Linked DNA regions of Homo sapiens: all the other regions are linked to region 3. The links are contacts of gene promoters, found by promoter capture Hi-C in blood cells and fetal thymus (Javierre and others, 2016). All regions are on one chromosome and are shown on one strand. The core of a region is centred on a gene start or on the middle of the fragment in contact, and the rest is flanking DNA. Distances in the headings are between cores, read along the strand shown. Region 1 overlaps RIDA (reactive intermediate imine deaminase A). Region 2 overlaps MTDH (metadherin). Region 3 holds the start of PTDSS1 (phosphatidylserine synthase 1). Region 4 overlaps INTS8 (integrator complex subunit 8). Region 5 has its middle 21 kb from the start of MTDH. Region 6 has its middle 5.1 kb from the start of INTS8. Region 7 overlaps MTDH (metadherin).

The links. Contacts are between HindIII fragments. The CHiCAGO score rates a contact against its expected background, and 5 or more counts as called.
Region 1: a contact is called between a fragment that was not itself captured here and the fragment with the promoter of PTDSS1 in region 3, in 1 of 17 cell types (non-activated CD4 T cells). The highest score is 5.9, in non-activated CD4 T cells.
Region 2: a fragment that was not itself captured here is called in contact with the fragment with the promoter of PTDSS1 in region 3 in 4 of 17 cell types (total B cells, naive B cells, M0 macrophages and 1 more); the score reaches 8.1 in total B cells.
Region 4: a contact is called between a fragment that was not itself captured here and the fragment with the promoter of PTDSS1 in region 3, in 1 of 17 cell types (activated CD4 T cells). The highest score is 5.7, in activated CD4 T cells.
Region 5: a fragment that was not itself captured here is called in contact with the fragment with the promoter of PTDSS1 in region 3 in 5 of 17 cell types (activated CD4 T cells, total CD8 T cells, total B cells and 2 more); the score reaches 9.3 in activated CD4 T cells.
Region 6: a fragment that was not itself captured here is called in contact with the fragment with the promoter of PTDSS1 in region 3 in 1 of 17 cell types (fetal thymus); the score reaches 6.4 in fetal thymus.
Region 7: a contact is called between a fragment that was not itself captured here and the fragment with the promoter of PTDSS1 in region 3, in 13 of 17 cell types (activated CD4 T cells, total B cells, total CD4 T cells and 10 more). The highest score is 11.6, in activated CD4 T cells.

The regions. Positions count from the first base shown.
Region 1 is chr8:98,104,589-98,107,288 of GRCh38, forward strand. RIDA (reactive intermediate imine deaminase A) reads right to left here. Exons shown (of 6, transcript NM_005836.3): 3 at 1,684-1,738; 4 at 1,350-1,418. Among named protein-coding and RNA genes, the nearest start is that of RIDA, 11 kb to the right of the region's middle. The HindIII fragment of the contact is 680 bases long and covers 1,106-1,785 here.
Region 2 is chr8:97,682,069-97,684,768 of GRCh38, forward strand. The region is part of intron 2 of MTDH (metadherin); the gene reads left to right. Among named protein-coding and RNA genes, the nearest start is that of MTDH, 39 kb to the left of the region's middle. The HindIII fragment of the contact is 5,003 bases long and covers 1-2,700 here.
Region 3 is chr8:96,260,576-96,263,275 of GRCh38, forward strand. It overlaps PTDSS1 (phosphatidylserine synthase 1), which reads left to right and starts at 1,327. Exons shown (of 13, transcript NM_014754.3): 1 at 1,327-1,644. The coding sequence starts at 1,466. MTERF3 (mitochondrial transcription termination factor 3) reads right to left here and starts at 1,035. Exons shown (of 8, transcript NM_015942.5): 1 at 926-1,035. RefSeq lists enhancers at 1-481, 633-692, 1,175-1,867, 2,013-2,252 and silencers at 856-1,180, 933-1,082, 1,263-1,632, 1,683-1,862. The HindIII fragment of the contact is 8,922 bases long and covers 1-2,700 here.
Region 4 is chr8:94,842,604-94,845,303 of GRCh38, forward strand. All of the region lies in intron 10 of INTS8 (integrator complex subunit 8), which reads left to right. Among named protein-coding and RNA genes, the nearest start is that of INTS8, 21 kb to the left of the region's middle. The HindIII fragment of the contact is 2,342 bases long and covers 202-2,543 here.
Region 5 is chr8:97,622,039-97,624,738 of GRCh38, forward strand. It overlaps the pseudogene RPS2P33. Among named protein-coding and RNA genes, the nearest start is that of MTDH, 21 kb to the right of the region's middle. The HindIII fragment of the contact is 1,632 bases long and covers 440-2,071 here.
Region 6 is chr8:94,816,838-94,819,537 of GRCh38, forward strand. No RefSeq gene overlaps it. Among named protein-coding and RNA genes, the nearest start is that of INTS8, 5.1 kb to the right of the region's middle. The HindIII fragment of the contact is 7,350 bases long and covers 1-2,700 here.
Region 7 is chr8:97,651,848-97,654,547 of GRCh38, forward strand. The region is part of intron 1 of MTDH (metadherin); the gene reads left to right. Among named protein-coding and RNA genes, the nearest start is that of MTDH, 9.0 kb to the left of the region's middle. The HindIII fragment of the contact is 3,974 bases long and covers 1-2,700 here.

The sequences.
Region 1 (2,700 bases), core at 196-2,695, 1.8 Mb after region 3:
AAAATAAAGATCAAGTGAAAATTTTTATTTTAGTTTTCAGATATTCTATTGTTATTCAATATCTACAATTAATAATCTGGCAAATATTTCATATACTAGTCAGTTCTTAGATATAAGCAACATTTATTTTTATTTTTTTGAAACAGAGTCTTGCTCTATCGCCCAAGGCTGGAGTGAAGTGATGCGATCTCAGCTTACTGCAACCTCTGTCTCCCATGTTCAAGAGATTCTCCTGCCTCAGCCTCCCGAGTAGCTGGGATTACAGGTGTGCACCACCATGCCTGGCTCATTTTTGTATTTTTAGTAGAGTCGGGGCTTCACCATGTTGGCCAGACTGGTCTCAAACTCCTAATGTCAAGTGATCCACCCACCTCAGCCTCTCAAAGTGCTGGGATTATAGGTGTGAGCCACTGCTCCTGGCCTTAAGCAACATTTTAAAAAAGAGGCTCACTATCAGATTTGTTTGATAAAATATTTTGCCATATGATTCCTATGATAGTTAATACTTTTTAAAATCTCTTAGCTTTCTGGCAAAAAAAAAAAAAAAAAAAAAAAAGAAATACATACCCTAACATTTTGATCTTGTTTGATGTGAATGGAGTTTTGTTTTTAAAGTGATATTTATAAACTATTTATCTAAATAGGGAACAAGTGCCCATCTCCAGAAATTTTGGCAAGTACTTCCTCTGCCAACTTTGGTCTTTTCTAATAATTTCTTCAGGAGAGAATAAGTAACGATGCTTTTTCCAAGTTATACCTTTGCCTCATCCCATTAGGTGTTGGGGACACCAATTTTCCCTACTATAACATCAATGTTAATAATAGCTAACATTTACTCAGTGCTTATAACACACCAGCATCTAAGTGCTTTACATGTTGTACTGACTCATTTAATCATTCCAACAACCCTATAAGTTAGGAGTATATTATCTCCATTTTGCATATGAGAAAACCAAGGCATAGAAATATTAAGTAACTAACTAATGAGTCTGAGAGAGCCAGGATAAAGATGGTGGCTGCACCATACAGCCACAGTAAATAAAATCTATGCATAAAAAACTTGTTAGGAGAGTTTAAAAAGCCTGAGAAGGATTTAATGAAATTAAGCTTTTGAAAAATGGATATGTAGGATTTCAGTATATTGTTTTAGGGAATGCAATAGAAATGTCTTAGAACTTTTTCATGGGGGGTATACAACATATTTCCAATCAGATTATTAATTCTTTTAAGATCTATGACCATTTCTTTAGCATCTCCTACCACTCTTAATTCATAATGCACATTCATTAATGTGACCAGATTTCTTTCTTTTTAAAAATGGAAAATAGGAATAAAGCCAAATTACTTACACTGTTTGTAGATTTCATTGACAGTATTGAAGTCATTTATGTCAGCCAGAAGAACAGTTGTTTTCACCACTAGAAGATATAAACATTGTCATTAGGTTTAGTTATTTGGTCTGACCCAAAACATTACTTAGAAAAAGAGTGTATGAATCTGAGACTGTCTTGATTAAAATGGGACTGAAATGGGACCAAAGAAGTGAAGTAGAACAGTTGCTATTTAAAACAACTTTTAAATAGCAACAAAGATATGGCACGGCATCTTACTGGATGCCATATATTTTTCAAAAAGACCAAAGAAATATCAAAAAGAAATGTGAAATAATATCAAATTGCTCACCGTTAGTGAAGTCACAGCCTGCAGCTTTCAGAATTTCACCCATGTTTTTAAGAGCCTGTGAACCAAGCCAAGAAAGGCCTAAGTCACTGATGTTAGATTTAAAGCTTTAATTAAATTCAATTAATCATCTTTTACTAATACCTCCTTAAATAGCCTATGTTGCAGAAAAATCCTCCCTACTCGCTTACAAGTGTGTTTCTTGGCTTTCCTTTAATAGAATGAGTCTTTCTGATATATGGTGAAAATGTTGTCTCCTTTTGTGCGTAAAAAGACTAGGTTGAAGTTCCTTCTTCAGTGCTAAAATGTGTTAATTGTTCAGCCAATGTCCACAGAAATAATTTCTGGTGTTCTTCATTCGATATCACGTCAAGGATAAGGATGAGCTAGTAAGCATTAAAACATATTTTCTTTTAAAGCAATATTTGACTTCAAAGGGTTCTTTTTCCTTTTTCTCAAAAAAACAATATTAGTAAATTATATAACAGTTGGAGACACTGGCTTCTGGAAAAACATTTATCTTTTTTTGGATTCACTCTTCCCACTTTGCTGGTCACAATGCAATATTTCATTATATTCTTGTGTCTTTTAAAATAATCTTCTAAATAGGTAATACATGGATATGGCAACAACAACAACAAAAAAACTCAAAAGCTATTAAAAAAGCATATACCGTGTAAAGATATCTCTCACCCCTCTCTCCCTCTCCCAAGTTTCCCTCCTCAGAGGTAACCACTGTTCCTAATTTATTGTATATCCTTCTAGGTACAGTCAATGCTTATGTTACATATTTTTAAACACACAAGCACACATGGTAGCATACTGTGCATGTTGTTCTGCATCTTGGTTTTATTACCATGGAACAATTTACCTCGGAGATCTTTCCACATTACTTTAGTTGTATTGATCTAGCATAATTTATTCAACCAGTTCTTTATGAGTGGATATTTAGGTTTTTAAAAATCTTTCAGCTAGGCCGGGTGTGGAGGCTCATGCCTGTAATCTCAGCACTTTGGGAGG
Region 2 (2,700 bases), core at 104-2,603, 1.4 Mb after region 3:
TTCAAAAGTCTTAGCTAAAGTGGAGCTGCTAAGAAGTAAGATGTTTGCTTCAGTAGTATGGCCAGGGCAAATAGCAGTATATATCACATATTTATTTTAAAGTTTTTCATAAGCTATTATTTTATTTAATCTTATCGGGATGGGTGTTCTTGTTAATTACTTTATATATATATATATATATATATATATATATATATATATATATATATATATTTTTTTTTTTTTTTTTTTTTTTTTTTTTTTTTTTTGAGATGGAGTCTTGCCCTGTCGCCCAGGCTGGAGTGTAATGGTGTGGTCTTGGCTCACTGCAACCTCCGCCTCCCAGGTTCAAGCGATTCTCCTGCCTCAGCCTCCCGAGTAGCTGGGATTATAGGCGCCCGCCACCACGCCTGGCTAATTTTTATTATTTTTAGTAGAGACAGGGTTTCACCATGTTGGCCAAGGCTGGTTTCAAATTCCTGACCTCAGGTGATCTGCCTGCCTTGGCCTCCCAAAGTGCTGGGATCACAGGCGTGAGCCACCGCACCTGGCCTTTTGTTAATTACTTTTAAAGGCAGTAGTAATATCAAATAATATTTAAGCCTAATCTAAGATAATCTTTTTCTACAGATTTTTAGTTACAAATCCCCAGATATTTCCTTGTAAACATAATTTCTATTATTTTTTCAAAGTCTCCCTTCTTAAAAAAAAATCTTATTTATATATACTACTTTGTCGTTAACAGACTCTTTTCACCTTTTGTTTTAATTCTTAAAATAACCTTATATGAGGTTAGTAGGAATTTTTGTCCATATGACGGGTGGGGAACAGGGTTTAGAATGATTTAGCCCAAAGTCACATAGCTAATGTATGATTAAATTTGTATTTAGAGTTAAATGTGGGGAGACTAAATAAGAGGTTATTTGCAAGGGTAAAGTGGATCAGAACTGGAATTTAGTCCTAGTTTCACCACTTTACCCTATGATGCTCTTAGACACTTTTTTTTTTTTTTTTTTTTTTTTTTTTTTTTTTTTTGAGATGGAGTCTCTCTCTGTCACCCAGGCTGGAGTGCAGTGGAGCGATCTCAGCTCACTGCAACCTCTGCCTCCCAGATTCAAGCGATTCTACTGCCTCAGCCTCCCGAGTAGCTGGGACTACAGGCACGTGCCACCACACCTGGCTAATTTTTTGTATTTTTAGTAGAGATGGGTTTCACCATGTTAGCCAGGATGGTCTCGATCTCCTAAGCTCAGGATCTGCCCGCCTCAGCCTCCCAAAGTGCTGGGGTTACAGGCGTGAGCCACCACGCCCAGCCTCTTAGACACTTTTCTTTGTTTTTTGTTTGTTTGTTTTTTGGAGTTTTTTTGAGACAGGGTCTCACCCCGTTACCCAGGCTGGAATACAGTGACATGATCACAGCTCACTTCAGCCTCAACCTCCCAGGCTTGAGTGATCCTCCCACCTCAGCCTCCCAAGTAGCTGGAACCACAGTTGCATGCCGCCACCCCCACTGATTTTTTTTTTTTAAGAGAGAGAATCTCCCTGTGTGTTGCCCTGGCTGGTCTCATACTCCTGAGCTCAAGTGATCCTCCCACCTCAACCTTCCAAATTGCTGGGATTACAGGTGTAAACCACCGCACTCAGCAATCTTAAACACTTTTTATGGCCTCAGTTTCTATGTGTAAAATGGGGATACCTACTTTAGTTCCTGTGGACCTGCACTGTCCAGTATAGTGGCCACTTGCCACGTGTGGATATTGAGCACTTAAAATGTGACTAGTCCGGCCGGGCGCTGTGGTCACGCCTGTAATCCCAGCATTTTGGGAGGCCGAGGCGGGTGGATCACCTGAGGTTGGAAGTTTGAGACCACTCTGACCAACATGGAAAAACCCCATCTCTACTAAAAATACAAAATTAGCTGGGCATGGTAGCGCATGCCTGTAATCCCAGCTTCTCAGGAGGCTGAGGCAGGAGAATCGCTTGAACCCAGGAGGCAGGAGAATCGCTTGAACCCAGGCGGCAGAGGTTGCGGTGAACTGAGATCGCGCCATTGCACTCCAGCCTGGGCAACAAGAGTGAAAAACTCCTTCTCAAAAAAAAAAAAAAAACGACTAGTCCAAATTGAGATTGCTGTTAAGTGTAAAATACATGCCAGATTTCGAAGACTTACTTTGTTTTCTTTTACATACTATCTTATTGTGTTGCTTTTTTTATATGAGTTCCATGTTGAAATGACAGTATTATAGATACGTTGTGTTAAAATTGTCACCTATTTTAACTTAAAAATGTGTCTACTAGAAATTTTTAAAAATATATATGTGGTTTGCATTATATTTCTGTTGGCCAGCACTGCTCTAGACCAAGGATAGCAAACTCTGACACCCCAAATCCAGACAGATGCCTGTTTTTGTAAATAAAATTTTATTGGAACATAGTCACACCCCTTTGTTTATAAATTGTATGTGGCTGCTTTCATGCTATATGAGCAGAGTTCTGTGGTTGCTCCAAAACCCTGTGGCTTGCAAAGCCTAACATATTTACTATTTGATCCTTTGCAGAAAAAGTTTGCTGCCTCTGCTCAACTGTAGTTGACAGATGTTCAATATGTTACCTTTACTTAAGAGCGGCTATGGTAAAGACAAAGACAGAAAGTAGAATCATGGTTGCCAGTGAGAAAAGAGGAGCTGGGAGTAAACGCTAATCATTACAGAGTTTCTTTTT
Region 3 (2,700 bases), core at 77-2,576:
CTACTTCAAACTCCTGAAATCCCAAATTCATCCTGAAGCCTTTCCACACTCAATACCACTTAAACATCAGGAAGACTCACTTTCAAATTTCACCCCGTCATTAAAAGATCTTTGTGCATACAACTAATGTTTATCCTTGCATTTTTATTTACAAGTGCACTATCTTCTCCACATCCTTTCATTGCTGCCTACACATCTTAACAATTGATTAACTGTTCATGCACGAGAGCAGAGCTGGGTCTCATCCCTGGATCCATCCTTCCGGGGACTATTCTCCACTTTCCCAGAGCCTTGTACTGCTCTAATGTTTGCGGAATGGAAATAAATCAATGGCAAGTACAGTTAACTCACTTGCTTACACAGTATGCAAAAGCGGGTAGGGGATGTGCAGATGTGTATAAAAGCCCTGTAAGGTGGTAACCTGAAGTCTTCTAACAAGGTCCTTTCATCAGGAAAATTACAGAAAACCCTTAAAGAAACTGAAGTCTCTTAACAATTCATATATACTGTTCTCAATGAGTGCCTAGTGCTTCGCTAGAAAAAGGCACTGAAATAGAGTTCAAGATTTCTACCTACGAAATGCTATAAATGAAATCAGGAGAGAAAGGGAGGTTATGGGGGCAGCTTCCTAATAAAGGGTCTCTCAATACTTCCCAGGCCATTTTAGCCCACTTCAGTTCCCCAAACTTGCGCAGGAAGGCAGAGCCCCCTCCTGAGGCTTCTCACACTGCGCTAATTAGCCAGCATGGTTGAGTTTTCACTACATCAGCCAGGGAAAAACACAAAACAAAACCAATCACCCTCTACTGGGCCGCGAAAACCTAAAGGCCCTTGAGGCCCTGGGGCGCGGTCTGGACGCGGGTGCGCCGGAACCTGAACCCTCGCCAGGAGCGCGATCCTCGTGCTGGGGCAGCTCCTGCTTTACCTGTGGCGAGGCCTGCTTCCCGTAGCGGGTGACCCCGGGACCGACCAACTCGCTGGGCCGCACGTCCCGTCCCGCCGCGCCGCACGCCGGCTCCTCAGCCCGCCCTACACAGCGCAGCCGCGCTCCCGGGCCCACGTGGGCCGCGCCCGGAGTGGGCGAGACCATGTGCCGGGTTACGCGGGGAGACAGCGGGCTACGTGCTCTGAAAAGAGCCAGCCAGGGGCCCCGGCTACCCTTCTCCGGCTCGCTATTCCTCTGAAGTCCTGTGGACTTGGAGTCTGAAAATTCCTCGAGTGGTAGAGATGCCTCAGCTAGGATGACAGCGTGGGGACGGCCGGCGGCGTCCCCTGCCCCAGGCCGCGGTGGCGGCGCCGCGACCCCGCCCTCTCGCGCCTGTCCTTCCCTCTGCTCCCAGCCTTTGCTGGGCGCCAGACCCGGCTTTGCCGTCCGGCTATTAGCCTACTGTGGCTAGTCACCCCCGGGGTCCCGGCCTTCTCGGGCTGGGGCCGCCGCCACCGCGGCAGGACGGGGAGGCGGGCCATGGCGTCCTGCGTGGGGAGCCGGACCCTAAGCAAGGATGATGTGAACTACAAAATGCATTTCCGGATGATCAACGAGCAGCAAGTGGAGGACATCACCATTGACTTCTTCTACCGGCCGCATACCATCACCCTGCTCAGCTTCACCATCGTCAGCCTCATGTACTTCGCCTTTACCAGGTGGGGCGGCCCAGCCGAGCGGGGGGCGCGTCCAAGGGCTAGGGAAGAGGCGGGAGGGAGGGTGGCGGGGAGGGGGGCCCGGCATGGCTCTGGGTGAGGAAGTGGGCTGGCTGCTCCACGCACACGCACTGGCAGCCCGCCGCCCACGCGGCCCCTCCGCCCGCCCGGTGTCTCACAGTACGCTAGCCTGCTCCCCTACCCCTCAGTGCCCCTTCTCCATACAGCGCCTCCGGTTACACGGGGAACGCACGCGAGTCACCTAGCACGATCGCCCCCTCACCCACCGCACTCAGCATCGCTCCACACAACATCACGACGCGGGCCCCTCCTCTGCACTGCTCCAGCCTTCGTCCCTACCCAGCACACCGCATGAATCATGTCGTATGCACCACTTTCAGCACACACCGCTACACATACAAAGCACCCCAATCCACAGCGCCTGCAGGCACCATACACAGGCCCAGGACACAACCTAGATCCCTTCCTGTGGAACTCCGGTATTCGGCACTATCCGTAACGCACAAAAAATGCACATGTGTGCTGCATACACGGTCTTTCCTGTGCAGCACTTCCCGTATGCATTGCACACAAGTCATCCAGCATAACACTTCCCCCAGCCTCAAACACTACCATCTGTACCACGGCACAAACTGCCACTCTAAACACACACCTCACAGCGGACCTTTCCTTTCCAGCACAGCCCAATACCCATCATCTGTGTACATGGCTGCACAGACACCAGCCCGCCACACATCACGCGGTGCATACCCTGCTCACTCATTACCTAACATACGTGCTGAAATGTGATCTTGTCCAGCAATTTTAATGGTGCCTGGGGTATAGTAACTGCTGTGTGTTAAATGAAACACATAAACCTCACACAGCATAACACAACTCTCTTATTCCCTGGAAAACATACACACACATTCTAATATATACCGGTTCATAGGAGCTGCCCAGCCCAAATCTTGAACACACCTCATGTTAACTCTGGCACTGCGCCTGTGGCTCCTCATTCCTAACCTAGAGAACTAATTCATCCTTGGTTCATAAGGA
Region 4 (2,700 bases), core at 123-2,622, 1.4 Mb before region 3:
GACAATTGGCACTTTTGACAGACTATGCCCTTCCGCCTGGTCTTCTGCTGTAGCTCTTTTTCTAGTTCGCTCCATGTTTCTTCAGCATCTTTATTGGATTCTCCTTAGTCCTTCATTGACTTCTCTATTGCTCTTCCTTTAGTATTTCTGTTCATAGAACTTTTGTCCTTGGCTCACTCATCATTTTTTATTTACTTCCAAAGCTTCACTCATCTGTTTCATCACCTGTTTACTAAGAACTCCCAAATCAAGCCTCTTGTCTGTCATGTGTGCTGTGGAATCTGTGTTTCTACTGGATCACTCTACTTCTTTCTTAACAGTCTTAATGTTAGAGACATTGAGAGAAGTACATAAAGCACAGATAATACCACTTACTTCCAAAAATACAACGTTGCCAGCACTCTAGAAGCCTTTGTTGTGGTCTTTACAACCTCCTCTACCTTCCCTTGAGGTAGCTACTGCCCTGGCTTTTGTGATCATAATTTTCTTGCTTTCTTTTATATTTGTATCACCTCTGTATGTATCCTTAAAGAACATTCTTTAATTTGCCTATTTTGAACTTCATATAAATGGAATCATACAATGTGTATTCATCATCTTCTTTCACTAAAGAGATTTATTTGTGAGATTTATTCAAGTTGTATATAAATAACAATTTTTTTCATTGCTTTAAGGTGTTAGAGCCTGGGTGCAGTGGCTCACACCTGTAATCTCAGCACTTTGGGAGGCCAAGGCGAGTGGATCACAAGGTCAGGAGTTCAAGACCAGCCTGGTAAACATAGTGAAACTCCGTCTCTACTAAAAATACAAAAAATTAGCCGAGCGTGCTGGCAAGTGCCTGTAATCCCAGCTACTTGGGAGGCTGAGGCAGGAGAATCGCTTGAAACTAGGAGGCAGAGGTTTCAATGAGTGGAGATTACGCCACTGCACTCCAGCCTGGGCAACAGTGAGAGACTCCATCTCAAAAAAAAAAAAGTTAGAATATTATATGGACCACGCCACAATTTCTTCAGTCTTATGATGGGGGACATTTGTGTGTTTTATAGTTTTTGGCTGTATACACATATGATGGAGGGACATTTGTGTTGTTTATAGTTTTTGCCGCTTGGAACATACTTGTACATATATCTAGGTGTGCATACGTACCAGTTTATGTTACATACCTAGGGAATAATATATCTGCAACATTAATTTTTAAAAACCAAGTGGCTTATAACCACCAGCATGCCTGAGTGTTCTCATCAGTCAACATCCTTGTTAACATTTGATATTGTCAGATCGCCTGTGAGGTGGTTGTATAACAGTACCTCATTGAGGTTTTCATTTCTACAACTCTTCATTTAATTTTTACTCATGGATTTTGTTTTTTGAGGTACCTTTTCCAAGTGTTATGCCTCTTTTTTTTTTTGAGATAGAGTTCTGCTTTTTTTTTTTTATTTTTTTATTTTTTGAGATGGGGCCCCCTCTGTTGCCTGGCCAGGCTTTAGTGCAGTGGCGTGATCTCGGCTCACTGCAACCTCCGCCTCCCAGGTTCAAGCGATTCTCCTGCCTCAGCCTCCTGAGTAGCTAGGACTACGGGCGTGCGCTACCACGCCTGGCTAATTTTTGTATTTTTAGTAGAGACAGGGTTTTGCCATGTTGGCCTGGCTGGGCTCAAACTCCTGACCTCAGGTTATCTGCCTGCCTTGGCCTTCCAAAGTGATAGGATTACAGGTGTGAGCCACCGTGCCTGGCCAGAGTTCTGCTCTTGTTGCCCAGGCTGGAGTGCAGTGGTACAATTTCAGCTCACTGCAACCTCCACCTCCCAGTTTCAAGTGATTCTCCGGCCTCAGCCTCCGGAGTAGCTGGGATTACAGGTGCCCACCACCACGCCCTGCTAATTTTTGTATTTTTAGTAGCGACGGGGTTTTGCCATTTTGGCCAGGCTGGTCTTGAACTCCTGACCTCAAGTGATCCACCCACTTTAGCCTCCCAAAGTCCTGGGATTACAGGCATGAGCCGTGCCCGGCCATGTTATGTCTCATTTTTCTATTATATTGTCTGTTCTTTGGAAGGAGCTTTCTTTTTTGTAGGAGATCTATATATATTCTCTTTTTTACCAATTTTAAATATTGCAGATATCTTCACTGAGTTTGACTTTTAGTTTTTCTTTTTTTTTTTTTTTTGTTTGAGACGGGTCTCACTCTATCACCCAGTTGGAGTGCAGTGCTGTGATCTCAGTTCACTGTAACCTCCACCTCCTGGGTTCAAGCCATCCTCCCACCTCAGCCTCCTGAGTAGCTGGGACTACAGGCATGTGCCACCACGCCTGGCTAATTTTTTTTATTTTTGGTAAAGATGGGGTTTTGTCACGTTGTCCAGGCTGGGCTCGAACTGTTGAGCTCAGGTGATCCACTCACCTTGGCTTCCCAAAGTGCTGTGATTACAGGCATGAGCCACCACGCCCAGCTTAGTTTTCTTTATATTGTTCCAAAGCTCCTAAATTTAATATCAAATTTACCGATTTTTTTCCGTTGTAGTGATTTCTGTGTGTTGTTTAAGAAAGCTTTTTCCTATTGTGTCATGAAGATATTCTTCTATTATTATCTTCTAAAAGCTTTATAGCATAGCCTTCCTTTCACGTTTAGGTCTTTGATCAACCTACAGTTGATTTTTGTGTGAAGCAGGAAGTGTGCCAGCACCATTTACTGAAAGGTTAAT
Region 5 (2,700 bases), core at 6-2,505, 1.4 Mb after region 3:
TACTGAGGAAATTCTCTGACTGTAATGATATTACCTGTGAAAGCAAGAAGCAAGCCAATGAGAACACCTTGGTGTGAGCCCCTTGGCTTACCCATAGTTAATAATATTACTGGGGCCAGGTGCAGTGGCTCACACCTGTAATCCCAGCACTTTGTGAGGCTGAGGTGGGTGGATTGCTTGAGGTCAGGAGTTGGAGACCAGCCTGATCAACATGGTGAAATCCTGTCTCTACTAAAAATACAAAATTAGCCAGGCGTGGTGGTGCATGCCTGTAATCCCAGCTACTTGGGAGGCTGAGGCAGGAGAATCACTTGAACCCAGGAGATGGAGGTTGCAGTGAGCCAAGATCGCGCCATTGCACTCCAGCCTGGGCAACAAGAGCCAAACTCTGTCTCAAAAATAATAATAATAATAATATTACCTGCCATTCAGGTAATCAAGCTTGAATCCTTCTCTGTTCTCATATCCAATCAACAACCAAACTTTGGTTCTTTCTTTCACAGAGCTCATCTCTACCCTTCCTATCCCATTCTCACAGCCACCATCACACAATCCAGCCTTTATTCCTTCCCACGAAATGCCTTCTAATTATGGAAACATTTAAAAATTCAAAATCTAAGTGTGACAGGCATCTCTCTCTTGATTATTACAAAATTTAATTTAAATAAAAGGTTTGTTTTGCTTTTTTAAGGCGGTATCTATTTTGTCTTCAGCAGCTCCCTAAAGAACTAATACAGTACCTTTATGTGGAAATACTATCTTAAGAGAGTTCTGCAGTTCTCTTTGCAATGCCCAATCTTTGGTCTCCTGCTGGAATACCAGTCCTTCCAATGTCCATCCGCTGTCCCTTCTAAAGCGTCAGAGCAGACTCAGGCTGCCCTCGCAGTTGCTCTCAGAATGACCAGCTCAGCCTCTCCAGCCAGGGTCAGAACACCCGAACAAGACCTGCACAGCCAATCAGCTGTTTCTTCTGGCTCCCTTTCAGTCCCAATCCTTAGTCTGTTTAAAGGACTGAAAGTTAAATTTGAGCCAAAGAAATAGCTAGAAGGTGACAACAGCTAAGTCCCCAAGGCTTTAAATAGAGTAAGACGTGTAAGGAGAAGCCTCCCCGGAGGCACCTACCCAATGAAAGGGATCTCTCAGGAAAATCACTCTCTGTGCATCACTCATGCGTGCACTGGAGTCAAAGGCCAGGGCACAGCCAATTTAAGAAAAGGATGGAGGCAGCAGTGTCTGGCTTTGCTAGGAGACAGATTACTGTCATTATAATGCACGAGAAACATTCCATTTGTTAAGCCAGAGAAAAAGATATTTCACACAAAAAATAAGAGGAATGTATCTATTGGTCAATTATTTCATCTTACTCCAAGAATTACTGAATTTCAGATAAATGATTCTTCATCATAGAAGATATTAGTTGCCAAAGAGTCCTCTAAAGACAAGGCCGGGCAGGCCCTTCAATGTGTGAAATACAAATGTATAAAATGAAGTTAACAGGCAAGTGCACTCCCACCTAAAGACATTCAGATTTTAAGATATTTGAAAACATTGATCTGGTCATACAAAACCAAAACACAGCTGTATGCAAATCTGGCACACAGATGCTGGCTCTCCTCTCTGGCTCTCAGGTTAAGCAAAGAGATTATTAAAATAATCAAAGATCCGGAAATGTTTTTATTTTTTTCTTAACTACATGGTTTAATTTTAGACAGCATGGGTTGACTCCCTGCTATGAAAGATGAAGTGATTACACTCTTAACAATTTCTCCTACCTACATTTTCCTCCATTTCTCTTCTCATTAATTATAATATATTTTACTTTGCCAGGTTATAAGCCATCACATCATGTTCTGTAATTATGATACCCCTAGTTACTTAGTTTTTGTTCTATTTTTAAAAGCGTCTAATGCTCATTTCCAGTTCTTTTACCACTCCTACATTCTTGATTTTGATTCATTTCTTTGGCTGGATTTCAATGTCCAATGGTTTTGTTCATGAAAGGCTTACTTCTATATCTTTTACACACTAGATTCTAAGTACTACTTTCCCTCTGTCTTTTCATATTTGAGAAAGCTTGCTTGTTGACTTTATAACTGAACAGTTTTGTTGGACTACACTTTTTTTAAACAGGCTTAATTCGCTTTATTTTACTTGTATAAAAACCTTATGTTGTAGCCACAGCTGGAGCCTGGGTCCTCTGCACGTAGACTCTGGCGTGGGTCTTGACAAGGTGGTCAGTGAATTCCTGATAGGGAGACTTGGTGAATACAGTCTCCTTCCAGAGGTCGGGGGTCAGGTAGCTGTAGGTCTTGGAGATGGCATCAAAGGTGGCCTTGGCGAAGTTGCCCAGGGTGGCATTGCAGCTCCCAGCTGAGGTGTGGCAGTCATGGATACCGGCCATCATCAGCAGCTTCTTAGCTACTGGGGTCGAGGCGATGCCAGCGCCCCGGGTGCAGGGATGAGGTGCACCAGCACAGAGCCGCAGCGGCCTGTCACCTTGCAAGGGACCGTGTGGGGCTTGCCGAACTTGTTTCCCCAGTAGCCTCTGCGCACGGGGACAGTGGAGACGTTGGCCAGGATCATGGCCCCTCGGATGGCAGTGGCTACCTCCTCGGAGCACTTAACACCCAGACCGACGTGGCCACTGTAGTCCCCTGTGGCCACCAACGCCTTGAACCTGGTGCACTGGCCAGCACGGGT
Region 6 (2,700 bases), core at 199-2,698, 1.4 Mb before region 3:
CTGGGTGGGCAACATAGCAAGACCCTATCTCTGCAAAAAAATAAATAAATTAGCTGGGCATGGTGGTATTCATCTGTGGTCCCAGCTACTCAGGAGGCTGAGGCAGAAGGATCACTTGAACCCAGGATGTCAAGGAGGCAGTGAGCTAAATGCCACTGCACTCCAGCCTGGGCAACAGAGAGATACCATCACAAAACAAACAAACAAAAACCAGAACGGGGTGCGGTGGCTCACGTCTGTAATCCCAGCACTTTGGGAGGCTGAGGCGGGTAGATCACCTGAGGTCAGGAGTTCGAGACCAGCCCGGTCGACATAGTGTAACCTGTCTCTACTAAAAATACAAAAATTAGCCAGGCATGGTGGCGTGCCTGTAATCCCAGCTACTCTGGAGGCTGAGGTAGGAGAATCACTTGAACCTGGGAGGTGGAGGTTGCAGCGAGCCAAGAGCGCACCATTGCACTCCAGCCTGGGCAACAGAGCAAGACTCTGTCTCAAAAAAAAAAAATACAGATAAAGTTGAAGTACCTGTGACCCCCCTCCCCCACTCCTTCCCCCCATTCACCTCTCCTCTCCCCTTCTCTAACCCACCCCTGTTCTATCCTCCTTCCCTCTTCTCTTCAGAGCCAAACACAGTAGGATTTTGATGTGCATGCCTCAATAAAATAGTTTCTCAGATTTTTTAGTCTCAGGGCCCTGTTAGACCAAAAAATTATTAAGCACTTAAAAGAGTGTTTGTTTATATTTACCATATTAAAAATTAACACTGAGAAGTTTTAAAAATATTTAATTTATTTAAATTAAAATAAAATAATCATATAAAAATAAAAATAATCCTATTACATGCTGACAAATACAATTTTATATAAAATAACTATTTTCATTTTAAAAACTAGAAGAGTGGCATTGCTCACATAGATGAGTAGTTAAAAAAAGAAGTATTTTATATCTTTTCGGATAATTATGGACTTTCTTCACCAAAACCTGAGAAAGTGGTTGTTTCTTAAAGATTAGCTGCAATTTTAAATCTGAAATCATACCAATTAACTTTTCAAATTCCGTTCCATTACAATTCATCAGTCTGTCTTGAAATTTTTTGTTTTGTTTTGTTTTGAGATGGAGTCTTGCTCTGTCGCCCAGGCTGGAGTACAGTGATGCGATTTCTGCTCACTGCAACCTCTGCCTCCCGGGTTCAAGCTATTCTCCTGCTTCAGACTCCTGAGTAGCTAGGATTACAGGCACCTGCCACCATGCCAGCTAATTTTTGTATTTTTAATAGAGACAGGGTTTGATCACGTTGGCCAGGCTGGTCCAAACTCCTGACCTCGTCATCCTCCCACCTCGGCCTCCCAAAGTGCTGGGATTACAGGCATGAGCCACCGTGCCCAGCTGAAATTTTTTATTTATTTACTTTTAAGAGGCAGGGTCTCGCTCTGTCACCCAGACTGGAGTACAGTGGCATGATCATAGCTCGCTGCAGTCTCCAACTCCTGGTTTCAAGTGATCATCCTGCCCCTGCCTCCCAAAGTGTTGGGATTACAGGCATGAGCCACTGTGCTCGGCTTGTCTTGGAATTTAAATAAATCTTTTAGCCATATATTAGGAAAATATTGATTGATTTGTCAAGTTGTGATGATCATCTGAAAGTTGACACATTTAAATATACATTTGTTAATATCGCCATTGGTGTCATCAGAAAAGTCTTGTCAAGTATTGGGAAGCTGCCAAGTTTACAGTTTTCTAAAATTCTAATTTTACTTAAAAAGTTGAATGTTGGCCAGGAGCGGTGGCTCATGTCTGTAATCCCAGCACTTTGGGAGGCCAAGGTGGGAGGATCACTTGAGGTCAGGAGTTCAAGACCAGTCTGGCCAACATGGTGAAACCCCATCTCTACTAAAAATAGAAAAATTAGCCAGGTGTGGTGGTGGCAGTGCCTGTAATCCCAGCTATTCGGGAGGCTGAGGCAGGAGAATCGCTTGAACCTGAGAGGTGGAGGTTGCAGTGAGCGGTGATAGCACCATTGCACTCCAGCCTGGGCAGCAAGAGCAAAACTCCATCTCAAAAAAAAAAAAAAAAAATTGAATGTTATTATTCGCCACAAATGGTGTTAGTTGTTTTCCATAAAGTGACATGACAGGCTCACTTTGTTCAAGAAAATGTCTGCTAAATACCCAAGTCTGAATGACCACAGTCTGTTCTCATTCTTTCTTTCTTTTCTTTTTTTTTTTTTTTTTGAGACAGGGTCTCACTCTGTCACCCACCTGAGTGCAGTGGTGCAATCTCGGCTCACTGTAGCCTCATCCTCTTGGGCTCAAGCAATCCTCCCACCTCAGTTTCCCACATAGCCAGGACTACAGACGCACACCACCATCCCAGCCTTATTTTTTATTTTGATTTTTTTGTAGAGACAGAAGTCTCACTATGCTGCCCAGATACGTCTTGAATTCCTGGACTCTCCACCTCAGCCTCCCAAAGTGCTGGGATTACAGGCGTGAGCCACTGCACTCGGCCAGTTTCTGTTGTTTTAAACCACAAAGTTTGTGGTAATTTGTTACAGCAGCCACTTGAAACAGATACAATGAGTATGTCACATTTTATTTGTCTATTCACCAGGTTATAGACCTTGGTTTCTACTTTTAGGCTACTGTAGATACTGCTGTTCTAAACATTCAAGTCTTTGTGTGGGTACATTTTCTCCTTTCT
Region 7 (2,700 bases), core at 198-2,697, 1.4 Mb after region 3:
TTTCTTGCCTTCTCCCAGTCTTCCCTATTTCTGTAAGTGGTAAATTACTCTACCATCCATTCAGTTATTCAAGCCAAAAATAGAAGAATCATCCTTGATTCTAATCTTTTTCTCACCTCTTCATATCTTCCTCACCTTATATCTAACCCATCAGCAAAGTACCATCAATTTTATCTCCAAAATATATATTCAATCTGACTACTTTTTCTAGTGTCACCTTAGCTCCCCTAACCTGCAGCAGTAGCCTTCCTTTTACTGCATCCAGTCCTTTCTCAACGCACTAGTAATGAGTTTTTTCAAAGCAAATCACTATGCTGCCTAAAACCAACACTTAGTAGCTTTTGCATTTAAAATCTAAATCTCTTTCCATGGCCCGTATGGCCCAGCACCTGCTTTTCATTCTAAGCTGAATTTGTGTGAGTTTCCTGTCATTTGCTGTTCAGTTCTTGAAACTCTTTCACAACCCAGCGCCTTTACATGAGCTATTATTAACACTTTTGGAACAATCTTTCCCCCACTATTCTCCTCAGCCTTTAGTTTTCACCTTAAAAGTCACCTTCCCCGAAAATCCTTTCCTGATCACCCTATGTGAAATAGACATCCCTTTCTATTTTCTGTCTCAACCCCTTAGATGTTTCCTTCATAGTGGTTATTACAGTTTGTACATTATTTGTTTACTTACCCATTTACTTTTTTGGGTTCTCTCCCTCCCCAGATTGTAAACCGGTGGCAAACTGCCTGGCGTATAAGTGCCTTTGGTAATTATTTGTTGAACTAAAAGCTGAACAAAGTGACTAAAATAACATCTCACAGTTAATTGGATAATCTGTTATTGAGTTAAATAAATTTATCTCTTAATATATTCCCAGTAGAATTGTGTTTTTTTATTCTTAGGTAATAGTTTTGCTGGTAATATTAAAAAAGTTATATCACTTGCCACCTATAGAGTTTTCTTTTTACCTTTAAGTCACTCTTTGTCAGTTTTAATTCTTAAGAGAATAATCAGCCAGGTGCGGTGGTTCACACCTGTAATCCCAGTACTTCGGGCGGACCACCAGGTCAGGAGATTGAGACCATCCTGGCCAACATGGTGAAACCCCATCTCTACTAAAACTACAAAAATCAGCCAGGCATGGTGGCGTGCACCTATAGTCCCAGCTACTCAGGAGGCTGAGACAGGGGAATCGCTTGAACCCGGGAGGCGGAGGTTGCAGTGAGCCGAGATCGCACCACTGTACTCTAGCCTGGCGACAGAGCGAGACTCTGTCTCAAAAAAAGAAAAAAAAAAAAAGAATAATCATTTGCTCAAAAAAATCCAAATTATAAGTAAAACAAATATTCATGATTTTACAGAAGAGAAATCTTGAGATTCAGAAAAATTAACTGACTTATTCAAGGTCATAGGACAAAGGAGTTTAAAAGGCAAAACAATATCCTAATTTCTAGTCTAAGAACTTTGTTATTTCCACTCTACCTCTCTGGTTTCGATGGCATGTTCCAGGATATTAAATTGCATTCAGAGAACAAATAGAGTTTTCCCAGTGAGTTATGGCTTTATTGCTTTTAAAATTTCGAGTCAGAAGTTTCTGCTGAAAATTATAATGACCTTACAAAAGCTCCAGAATTTTGGCTCCATTTGTTTGGTTATGTGACAGGATTTTTTCATCTTTTCTTTTCATTCTGCCAGAGGCCTAACGTAAAAGACCTTTAACAGTTCTGACAGAAAAGACCTTTAGTAGTTGTGCCCATCTTAGATACCAAGAACAACAATAAACCCTATGAACATTCATTTTTGTTGTGCTTTGGCATTACTGGTTAGTGTACTATTTCTCAAGGCTGTAAAAGCCTTGAGAGTATTTTTAAATTATTATTCAAGCAAAATTCAGAGATATAAGTGAGGAATTGGTGTTATTTGATCAGTTTTAAAATGCACTTGTTTTTCTCTCCAGCTATGCTAGTAGTTTTCAAACTGCTCCATGGAATGCCAGGCTTCCCAGAAGGCATCCGTCAGAATGTCTTAGACATTTTTCTTCTAAGAAAGAATTATACAGATGTGTATTTGCTGTATCATTTGTAGTCCTTATCATACCCATCAGATGTAAAATATTGAAAACCAATGCTTGTATTTAGTTTTTCAGAAATCATCTTTGGCATATCTTGGCCATGTGACAGTTATTACCATCTCCCCATCTCATAAAGGTAACCCTGAGCATCCCTGCTGTAGTCAACAAGGAGACAGTTTGGAATCCTGAGTTGAATTTTTGGCTGTTTAGAAAGCACAGGGATCTTTACCACTAAAGGAAATATCTCAGTATATAGTGAGATTTTGCAAATTTGAACCATAGGTTATATTTGTAAGATTGTTCTCTCAGTTATTAAGAGTTTGAAATTGGGGTTGAACTGTGTCTAAAGCTATGGTTTATGTGTATGTTTAGTTTATGTAGTTGCTGTGTGCATAACATTTGGCAGGGGAAAATGTTTTTACTTTCAAACAAACTGACAAGAAATTGTTCCATCTTGAATTTGTGTAAGAACGTTTCAGAACTAAAACAAACTTACCAAAACTAGGTCTTGTCCATTAAATGAGATAATGCGTGTAATGTGTCTAGCAAGTACTTGGAAATTATTATTGTTAAGACTGTCTTATAGTCTAACTTATCAACTACAATGATGCCTCTTCTGAATTTCCTAATTTCTTGC